Regions from separate parts of the Homo sapiens genome. Here region 2 is linked to region 1. The links are contacts of gene promoters, found by promoter capture Hi-C in blood cells and fetal thymus (Javierre and others, 2016). All regions are on one chromosome and are shown on one strand. The core of a region is centred on a gene start or on the middle of the fragment in contact, and the rest is flanking DNA. Distances in the headings are between cores, read along the strand shown.

What was found. Contacts are between HindIII fragments. The CHiCAGO score rates a contact against its expected background, and 5 or more counts as called.
Region 2: a fragment that was not itself captured here is called in contact with the fragment with the promoter of ADD1 in region 1 in 2 of 17 cell types (naive B cells and activated CD4 T cells); the score reaches 6.0 in naive B cells.

Annotation. Positions count from the first base shown.
Region 1 is chr4:2,841,506-2,846,389 of GRCh38, reverse strand. It overlaps ADD1 (adducin 1), which reads right to left and starts at 2,546. Exons shown (of 16, transcript NM_001354761.2): 1 at 2,366-2,546. RefSeq lists silencers at 2,085-2,234, 2,355-2,544, 2,605-2,984, 3,085-3,134 and an enhancer at 3,263-3,774. The HindIII fragment of the contact is 1,799 bases long and covers 1,442-3,240 here.
Region 2 is chr4:2,667,688-2,672,571 of GRCh38, reverse strand. FAM193A (family with sequence similarity 193 member A) reads right to left here. Exons shown (of 21, transcript NM_001366318.2): 13 at 200-451. Among named protein-coding and RNA genes, the nearest start is that of TNIP2, 86 kb to the left of the region's middle. RefSeq lists an enhancer at 820-1,364. The HindIII fragment of the contact is 5,143 bases long and covers 405-4,884 here.

The DNA.
Region 1 (4,884 bases), core at 1,297-3,796:
AAAGTAAAGCTGAATCTGATCATACCTTTAGATCTAACCACCAGTTTTCAGTAAATTCTGTGAAACTATGCCACAGAGTAAAATTGAGACTGTGCATAACTCCACATGACAAACTACCAGGTTTCATCCATAAATAAATTACAAGAGAAAACTAAATATGGAGGGGAAACTATCAATTAAAATGAGTCACACTGTATAGATAGCATGTGGATCGATTGAAATTGTTAAGAAAAAAAATGAGAATTCTGACAATTTTAACACTGGCTGGATATTTGAAAGTATTAAGGAATTATTCATTTTCTGTGATAGTGGTACTCATGTTTACCTTTTGTTTAAGTCTTTAAGATATACATATTGAACTATTTAACGGTTAAAGGATATCTAGGACTGCGGGGATATGATGAAGCAAGATTGACTGTTGAAACTGGTTGAGAAAAGGGGTTTATACTATTCTCTCTACATATGTGTATATGTTAAGAGGTAAACATGGAAGGAAAGAAAGGAAGGGCAGTCAATCTAACTCTAAGTTTCAAGCAATAAGTAAATATTTTGTTATCTTTCAAAGCATTTCAGTATTTACTTTTCTTATTCAATTCAAAGACTATAAGAACTAAAAACTAAAAATCATGTAAATAAACAGTTTTTATGGCAAAATCAGTAACACAAAACTGAACACCAAACAAAACCTTCTCAGTATATCAGATAACATCAAAAGAATTAAGGGGAAAAATGACCAGCTTGTACGAAGTATATTTTAGAAGGAAAACTATCTCACAATTCGGGGACTGGCTAGAGTTTAGACTCACATCACTCAGCGACTCTCCGAAACTTTAAAACCTAAAGACACCACAAGTAGAAAACTAACAAATCATACCAGCTGTCCATACCATTGTAAACCACATCGAAACTCTGAAAAGCAGTTTTGACTGCCCAAATCATCCACTTCCTGAAAAGACAACTTTACTATTCTAGTTTTCTCCACTGTCAAAATCAAAGGAGTATATTAAAATTTTAACGTAGGCCAGGCGCGGTGGCTCACGCCTGTAATCCCAGCACTTTTGGAGGCCTAGGCGGACGGATCACGAGGTCAAGAGACTGAGACCATCCTGGCCAACATGGTGAAACCCCGTCTCTACTAAAAATACAAAAATTAGCTGGGCGTGGTGGCGCGCGCCTGTAGTCCCAGCTACTCGGGAGGCTGAGGTAGGAGAATTGCTTGAACCTGGGAGGCGGAGATTGCAGTGACTGGAGATCGCGCCACTGTACTCCAGCCTGGCGACAGAGCGAGACTCCGTCTCAAAAAAAAAAGGTATCATCGCGGGCCTTTGTCCATTCAAGGCTCCAAAGTTTACAAACTCACTTTCATACAATTCACACCCTCTGCCTGAAATGCCCTCCTCTCTCTGGTGCCTGTTGAACTCCTACTCATCCACTCCAAGCTTGTTTTCACTAGGCGCCTCTACTCATAGACACAGTCGACCTATCAGCATTCTATTTCCTATCCCCATTAAGATCTCAGTCAATTTTTCACACAAAAAATCTTTCTTTAACTTACCAGTAATGCATACAGCTATCAGCTATGTCTTTGGTCTTTGGAGATATGACAATTGCTTTTTGTCTTTCTAAACATAAATTATGCTCAAACCAACAACAGTTTCAGGCGAACCAAAATACGTTTTTCAAGGTGGGTATGCATAAAGTGAATGCAAATTACCTCCCAACTATCTTGAGCCATTACAAGAGCAAAGATAAAAGTCATCCTAACAGGGAAAGGCCCTCTGACATCTCCCAAAAAACGAAAATAAAAGATTAAGAAAAAAGAAAAGAGAGGGAGGGCAAAGGTGACCAACAGCCCCATCGCTGATAAAGTTCCACGATTATCTCTCGAGCGTCCGTCGGCAGATATGGCTTTTCTCTTTTGGCAGAAGCCGTCGTTTTTAAATACGAGAGCCGACAGATGCGTCCGTACACAAACCTTGCAGCCACCAGCGCTGCGGACCGCGGAACCGGTCTCACAAGCAGGATGCTGACCAGCGTCCAGCCAGGGTCGTCCTCCTCCGCCCCCACCCCTGCAGCCCACAAGCCGGCCAGGAACGAGCGGCCCGGGAAAAGCCTAGTCCCCGGGGTCCTATCCCGATGAAAGATCTGCGGCGCCCTCGCTCCCCGGCTCGGCCCAGGCCGAAGGCCCCGCGGGGACCCCTCCAAGACGCCCTCGGCGCCGCAGCGGCCTCCCCGCCCCCGAGGCTGCCCGGGCCGCCGCAGGCCCCGCGGCCCCCGCCCGCCGCAACCGCGGCCCAGTTCCCCGCGCCCCCGCCGCCGCCTCAGCCCGAACCGGGCCCCCGCCGCCCCCGCTAGCTAGCCTCACCTCAGAAGCGAATCGTGGGCAGCGCGCGGGATTCCGGGGTCCCAGTGCGGCCACCGCCCGTCGGCTCCGGCTCCGGCTCCGCCCCCGTCCCCTGGCCCGCAGCAGCGGCCCGCCAGGCCTCTCCGCCCCTCAGCCCCTCCGCTCGCCCCCACCGCCCGACCTGGGTGCGGCCTGCGGCGCTGCAGCCCAACAACGCGCCGTCCCATAGGCCAAGCCGCGCAGCACTGCCGAGCAACGTACCCTGCGATTGGCGGGACCCATGAGGGGCGGGTCCCCTGCGGGCAGGGCGATTGGACTCGCCAGGCCCGCCTCGGGGCGACCCCGCCGGGGCCTGCGGAGGCCCAGGGTCCCGCGCGGAGTACACCCCGGCCGGCAGCTTCGGGCGCCAGGTCATGGCTTCACGGTGGCCAGGTAGACTGCGGCGAGCCCCTGCCGGGTCCGCTGGACACGGTTTCATTGTGATTGACCTCCGCCGGAGGGGCTGTCGGAGCCCAGGGACCCTGCCCTCCCGCCGCCGCCCAGCGCACTCCCCCAGCAGACGGGCCCTGCCCCGCGTAGCCCCGCCTTGTGCAGTCCCCAGGCCGAGTTTTGGGGCCCGGGTGGGGTCAAGGCAGCAGGGCCTGTGGGCCCCGATAAGGCTCCACAGAGGACAACTGCCTGGCCCCCGGGCCCGGCCTGCGGGTGCTGAGGAGACCAGCGAGCACCAGCCACCTCCGCACGACCAGGGAGTGAGCCTGCGGGGCTTTGGCAGGACCAGCCTCAGACCAGCACCTTCCCGCACACTGTCCCTCCTGCTGGCGCATCTGACACCCAAAAAAACAAGCAGCGAGACAAATGGGCACGGCTGCTTGTCCTCTTGACACCCATAGAAAGCTTAGGTCCAGAGCTGGGCAGTGGCAGAAGAGTGTGGAATCCAGACCTCCCTGCTCAGCAGGAGCCTCTGTGACATTGCCCCAACAAGGGTCAGGGATACTGTCTGGATGGAAGCCAGCGACCCCTGTTCTAACCATTTCTGTTGGACGTTGGCTTTTCCAAGACGATTTTTCTGACAAGATCACAATTCTGTCTCATTCACTTCTGCTTCCCATAGTTAATCACTAGGGAAACGCAAATCAAAACCACTGTGGGATACCACTTAACATTCATTAGGATGGCAGTTGAAGAAGCAGGGAGTTGGGCGCAGTGGCTTCAGCCTAAAATCCCAGCACTTAGGGAGGCAGAAACAGGAGGATAGCCTGAGCCCAGGAGTTGGCAGACTTGACTGGACAACATAAGGAGACCCTGTTCTCTACAAAAACGAGAAGAAAACAAAAAGTTTCAAGGGGGGAGAAGGAGGAAGAAGAGGAAAAAAAGAAAATAAGTGTTGGCAAAGATGCGGAGAAATTGGAACCCTTTGTGCATCGCTGACGGGAATGTAAAATGGTGTGGCTGCTGTGGAAAACCGTAGAGTGGTTCCTCAAAAAATTAAACATAATTACCACATAATCCAGCAATTCCACTTCTGGATATATACCCCAAAGAAATGAAAACAGCTATTTGTACCATGTTCATAGCAGCATTATGCAGAGAAGGAAATTCTATTTATTGGGGTTTTGTGCCTTTTTTTTTTTTTTTTTTTTTTTTTTGGAGTCAGGGTCTCTGTCGCCCAGGCTGCAGTGCAGTGTTGCAACCATGGCTCACTGCAGCCTTGACCTCCTAGGCTCAAGGGATCCTCCTGCCTCAGCCTCCCAAGTAGCTGGGACTACCAGCACGTGCCAACATGCCTGGCTAATTTTTGTTATTTTTTGTAGAGACGGGATCTCACTATGTTGCCAGGGCTGGTCTCAAACTCCTAGGCTCAAGCAATCTTCCCAAATCCAAACTCAGCCTCCCAAAGTGCTGGGATTACAGGCATAAACCCATAAACCACGATGCCTGGCCAAAAGAAAGGAAATTCTGACGCATGCTACAACATGGATGAACACTGAAGACATGCTATGTGAAATAACCCAATCACAAAAAGATAAATGTATGATTCCACTTGTATGAGGTGTCTAGAGTAGTCAAATTCAGAGAGACAGGAGGTAGAATGGTGGTTGCAAAGGGCTGGAGGAATGGGGATTTAGTGTTTAATGGGTACAGAGTTTAAGCTTGGGGTGATGAAAAAGTTCTGGAGATGGATGGTGGTGATGACTGAACAATAATATGAATATTCGCAAAGCCACAGAACTGTACACTTTAAAATAATTAAAATGATAAACTTTATAATATGAAAATTTTATCATAATAAAACAATTTTAAAGCTATTAAAATATTCCTTCCTTTTCCAACTACAAAAAAGTAAAAAGGTCCAGGCGTGGTGGCTCTTGCCTGTAATCCTAGCAATTTGGGAGGCCAAGGCGGGAGGATTGCCTGAGCTCAGGAGTTAAGAGATCAACATGGACAACATGGCAGAACACTGTCTCTACTAAAAATACAAGAAATTAGCTGGGTCTGGTGGCAGGCACCTGTAATTCCAGCTACTCAGGAGGCTGAGGCAC
Region 2 (4,884 bases), core at 1,727-4,226, 170 kb after region 1:
AATGATTGTTACAACTGTAAAGGTTCACAATTACAGTGCTTAAGAGATTATGGTGAAAGGAAACACTTGGAGACCTTCCTATCCAGAGCAGATGCTATCCTATGCAAGTTGCTAATTCACAGATTTCTTTGTTTGACTATGTACTCCTGTAGGATCTCAGTGAAGAGTGAGCTTTCAGACCCTTTTTGCCCTGACTTACCTTACTGTGTGTGAAGGGGGGCGTTGCATACAAGGTGGGGTGGATGAGAGGGCGTGGCAGGTGTGGAACAGTGTGCAAAGGCACATGTCCATGGATGTGAGGGTAAAGGTGCAGTGCAGGGTGTGTGGGCTTCTCTGGGCTCAAGAACTGATGGCCAGGAGGAAGGGCTCCGGCTGTCATTGCAGATGGTGTCAGTCCAGAAGCTTCCTGCTTACAAACATGACATTCACAAGTGTTTGGAGCTTGTTCAGCCTAAGAGGAAAGAAAAAAAACATACCTATTTAGTGAAACAATAAATGGTATGAATTAAAGTCAGTCACATTCTGCCAAGTAGTTACAAAGCAAATACAAAGGTAAGTGGGCTTTTCCTGACACCCTGAGTTGACCAGGGCCTTCCATGCAAGGAAAACGAGGGACCCCAAGAGACTGAGACTGAAGAAGACGCACAGAGAAGAAAGGTGTACCTCATTCCACAGACAGACTCAGGTAGAGCCACTGGTTCTGAATCCTATGCCTATGCAGAAAATCTCTCTTCCCACATGTGAGCAGGGACAAGGGAACTAGTGAAGACGACAGAGTAGAGAGGGGATGGCTGTGCTCCACTGGGCTCACACTGCTTCTAAGTAGTCACACATGGATTCTCCAAAACAAAGCAGAGACGCGACTTCCGGTTACGGTGGAGTGAAGAGGTCAGTGGCTCCTTTCCCTCAGGGCAAATGTAAAACTGAACACAATTGTCAAAGGCAACCATTCTGAGGCTCTGGAAATCAGCCCAAGGAAAATACCGCGACACATTTATTCATGCAAATCAGCTAGAACTTCAAGGAAGAACAGCAAGTCTGGCTTTCTTGTCTGGGACTCTTTCCATTTCCTGCACCTGTACTCCACCCCTGACTCGGTCGGCAGTGGGCACAGGAGTTCTGTGACTGCAGGGATGTCAGCGCAAACCAACCCTGCTACCAAAAACAGCAGCCTGGTCAGGCAGAGGGTGAAGCAGTAAAAGCAGTGAACTTAGAAGGGAATGAATAGGGAAGCCTGCAGCTCTGTTCCCTTGAGACTGAGGTCCCAACTGGGGTGAGTGGCAAAGGAGACAGAAATCTAACAGAGAGAACCCTGGAAATGAGAGCGCCACGGAAGGGCTTCTTAAGCTGTCCACAACTCGCTGGCTGACCAGGAGAGCACAGTGCATGCACTGAGGACACCTCACGGGCTGGAGGAAGGGGCCAACACAGCTGACTTGAGAACTGGCTGAGTGCTGAGCGCATTCACCCCACAGCCAACAATGGAGCCCCTGTGGATTCAAGGTGCATGGGCAACCTCTGCCCAAATCATCAGCTGGCCAATCAGCCAGGTGGACAAAGGGCAGACCTCTAGAAGCCAAACTAAAAAGGAGAAGAGAAGAAGTAAGCTGAGACACCCACAGCCACATAATGTGGGAGATACAGGTCCTGCAACTGAAGCCCAGGAAATAACAAAAACAAGGAAACAAACAAAAGACAACAAAGGACCCTCAAGGGAAAAAATGATAATGCAAAATTATCACATTATTTAAAATGTCCAATTTTCAACAAAAAATTATGAGACAAGCAAAGATTAAAGAGAAGTATGACCTAGGCTGGGCGCAGTGGCTCACACCTGTAATCCCAACACTTTGGGAGGCAGAGGTGGGAAGATCACTTGAGCCCAAGAGTTCAAGCCTAGTCTGGGCAACATGGCAAAACCCTGTCTCTACAAAAAGTACAAAAACTATCCAGGCATGGTGGTGTGTGCCTGTAGTCCCAAGTACTTGGGGGGCTGAGGTGGGAGGATTGTTTGAGCCCAGGAGGTCCAGGCTCGAGGCTCCAGTGAGCTGTAATCATGCCACTGCACTTCAGCCTGGGTGGCAGAGCAAGACCTTGTCTGGAAAAAAAAAAGTGTGACCCACATGCAGGAAATAAATAGTCAAACGGTTAACAGGAGTGAGTTCAGATACTAAATTAGCACACAAAGATGTCAAAGCAGCTGTTATAACATGTTCAGAGAATTAAAGGAAAATATGAAAATAAAGATTCAACATATAGGGAATTACTACAAAAAAAGAGAAACAAAAAAACAGTAAAATATAAATTCTATAGGTGAAGAGTACAATAGCTAAACCAAAATTTCACTAAAGGGGCTCAAAAGCAAACTTAAAATGGCAGAAAAATCATCTGTGAACTTGAAGAAGAGCAATGGAACTGATCTAGGAAGAGAGAGAAGAGATGAGGGGAAAGTATGCAGACGCTCAGAGGCCTGTGGGAGAGCAGCCAGCACTCCAGCATGTGCAGAACCAAGTCCCAGAGGAAAGGGGGAAGAGCATCCAAATAACACCTGGACACTCCACTTCCCAAATGTGATGAGAAACATTGGTCTACAGATCCAAGAAGCTCAGTGAACCTTAAGATGGATAAAAACAAAGAGATACTGAGAGCTGCAGAACTCTGGCACACAATGACCACCTAAGGCTTCCTGCAGCCAAAGGCCAAGTCCCTAGGATGACCCCAGACCCTACTAAAACACCTTCTTGAGAAAGCCAGGCTGCCAGGAGAACTGACTGCTTGTTCTAACAGTCTGACAGCTGATGACTGTAACAAGAGTAACACTCTGGTGTGGAATTTGATAGTGGGAAGGCTGTGTGTGGGGACCCTGGGTATAGGGTGTCTCTGTAGCTCTCACTCAACTTTGCTGTGAGTCTAAAGCTATTCCTAAAAACAACCACTCTATTTATTATTTATTTATTTATTGTTGAGACGGAGTCTCACTTCTCGCCTAGGCTGGAGCGCAATGGCGCGATCTTGTCTCACTGCAACCTCTGCCTCCCGGGTTCAAGCAATTCTCATGCCTCAGCCTCCCAAGTAGCTGGGATGACAAGCACATGATAGCACGCCTGGCTAATTTTTGTATTTTTAGAAGAGATGGGGTTTCACCACGTTGGCTAGGCTGGTCTCGAACTCCTGACCTCAGGTGATCTGCCCGCCTCTGCCTCCCAAAGTGCTGGGCGTGAGACACCCCCATGCCTGGTCTATTTTTTAAAATGAAGGCAAAATAAAGACATTTACACAAAAACAGAATTAACTGCTAGCAAACTGGTCCTGTAAGACATATTAAAGGAAGGTAAAAACAAGACGGTAACTTAAATTCGGCAGAATTTAAAATGAAGAATGCCAGAAATGACTAGCCAGCTAGCAAATAGAAAACACTGTATAAATACAGGCCAGGCGTGGTAGCTCATGCCTGTAATCCCAGCACTTTGGGAGGCCAAGGCGGGTAGGTCACCTGAAGTCAGGAGTTTGAGACCAGCCTGGCCAACATGGCGAAATGTCATCTCCACCAAAAATACAAAAATTAGCCGGGTGCCATGGTGCTTGCCTGTGATCCCAGCTACTCAGGTGGCTGAGGCAGGAGAACTGCTTGAACCTGGGAGGTGGAGGTTGAAGTGAGCCAAAATTGTGCCACTGCACTCTAGCCTGGACAACAGAGTGTGACTCTGTCTCAAAAAAAGGAAAAGAAAAAGGAAAAGAAAAGGAAAAGGAAAAGAGAAAGAGAGAGAGAGAGAAAGAGAGAGAGAGGAAAAGGAAAAGAAAGAAAAGAAGGCAGGCAGGCAGGCACTGTATAAATACATTTTTCTCTTTTATTTGCTCTAGAAATTATAAAGCTGTATAAAGCAGTAATTAAAACATATTATTGGTTTGTAACATATACAAATGTAATTATATATAGGACAATAATAGTACAAAGGAGAAAGAAGGAAATGGAGCTCCTGCGGAGCAAAGTTTGTATATTTTACTGGAATTAAGTCAGTAGTAATCTGGAGTAGATTGTGATAAATTAAGATGCATATTGTGGGCGGGCGTGGTGGCTCACACCTGTAATCTCAGCACTTTGGGAGGCTGAGGTAGGTGGATCACTTGAGGCCAGTTAGAGACCAGCCTGGCCAAAGTGGCAAAACATTGTCTCTACTAAAAATACAAAAATTAGATGGGCGTGGTGGTGCGCATCTGTAATCCCAGCTACTTGGGAGGCTGAGGCAGGAGAATCACTTGAACCTGGGAAGCAGAGGTTGCAGTGAGCCAAGATTGCGCCACTGCACTCCAGCCTGGGTGACAGAGCGAGACTCTGTATCAAAAAAAAAAAAAAAAAAGATGCATATTGTGGCTGGGTACACTGGTTAAGTGTAATCTTAGCACTTTGGGATTTCCTGGCGGGAGAATCACTGAAGGCCAGGAGTTTGAGACAAACTTGGGCAACACAGGGAGACCTTGTCTCTACTAAAATTAAAAAACTTAGCCGGTCATGGCGGCACATGCCTATAGTCCCAGCTTACTAAGGAGGCTGAGGCAGGAAGACTGCTTGAGCCCAGGAGCTTGAGGTTGCAGTGAGGCATGATGATGCCACCCCACTCCAGCTTGTGTAACAGAGCAAGACCCTGTCTCTAAGAAAAAAAGAGATACATATTGTATTTTAATTTTTGTTTCTTTTTATTTTTTATAACGACATTCACAAGAGATGCATACTGTAACCCTACAGCAGCCACTAAGAAAATTAAAAAAAGAATCAACAGAAGAATTAAAATAGTACACTAAAATTTTTGTTTAATATTTAAAAAGGCAGATACTGACATATACAGGATAAAAATGCAAGGCCCAACTAAAAGATGTTAGACAAAT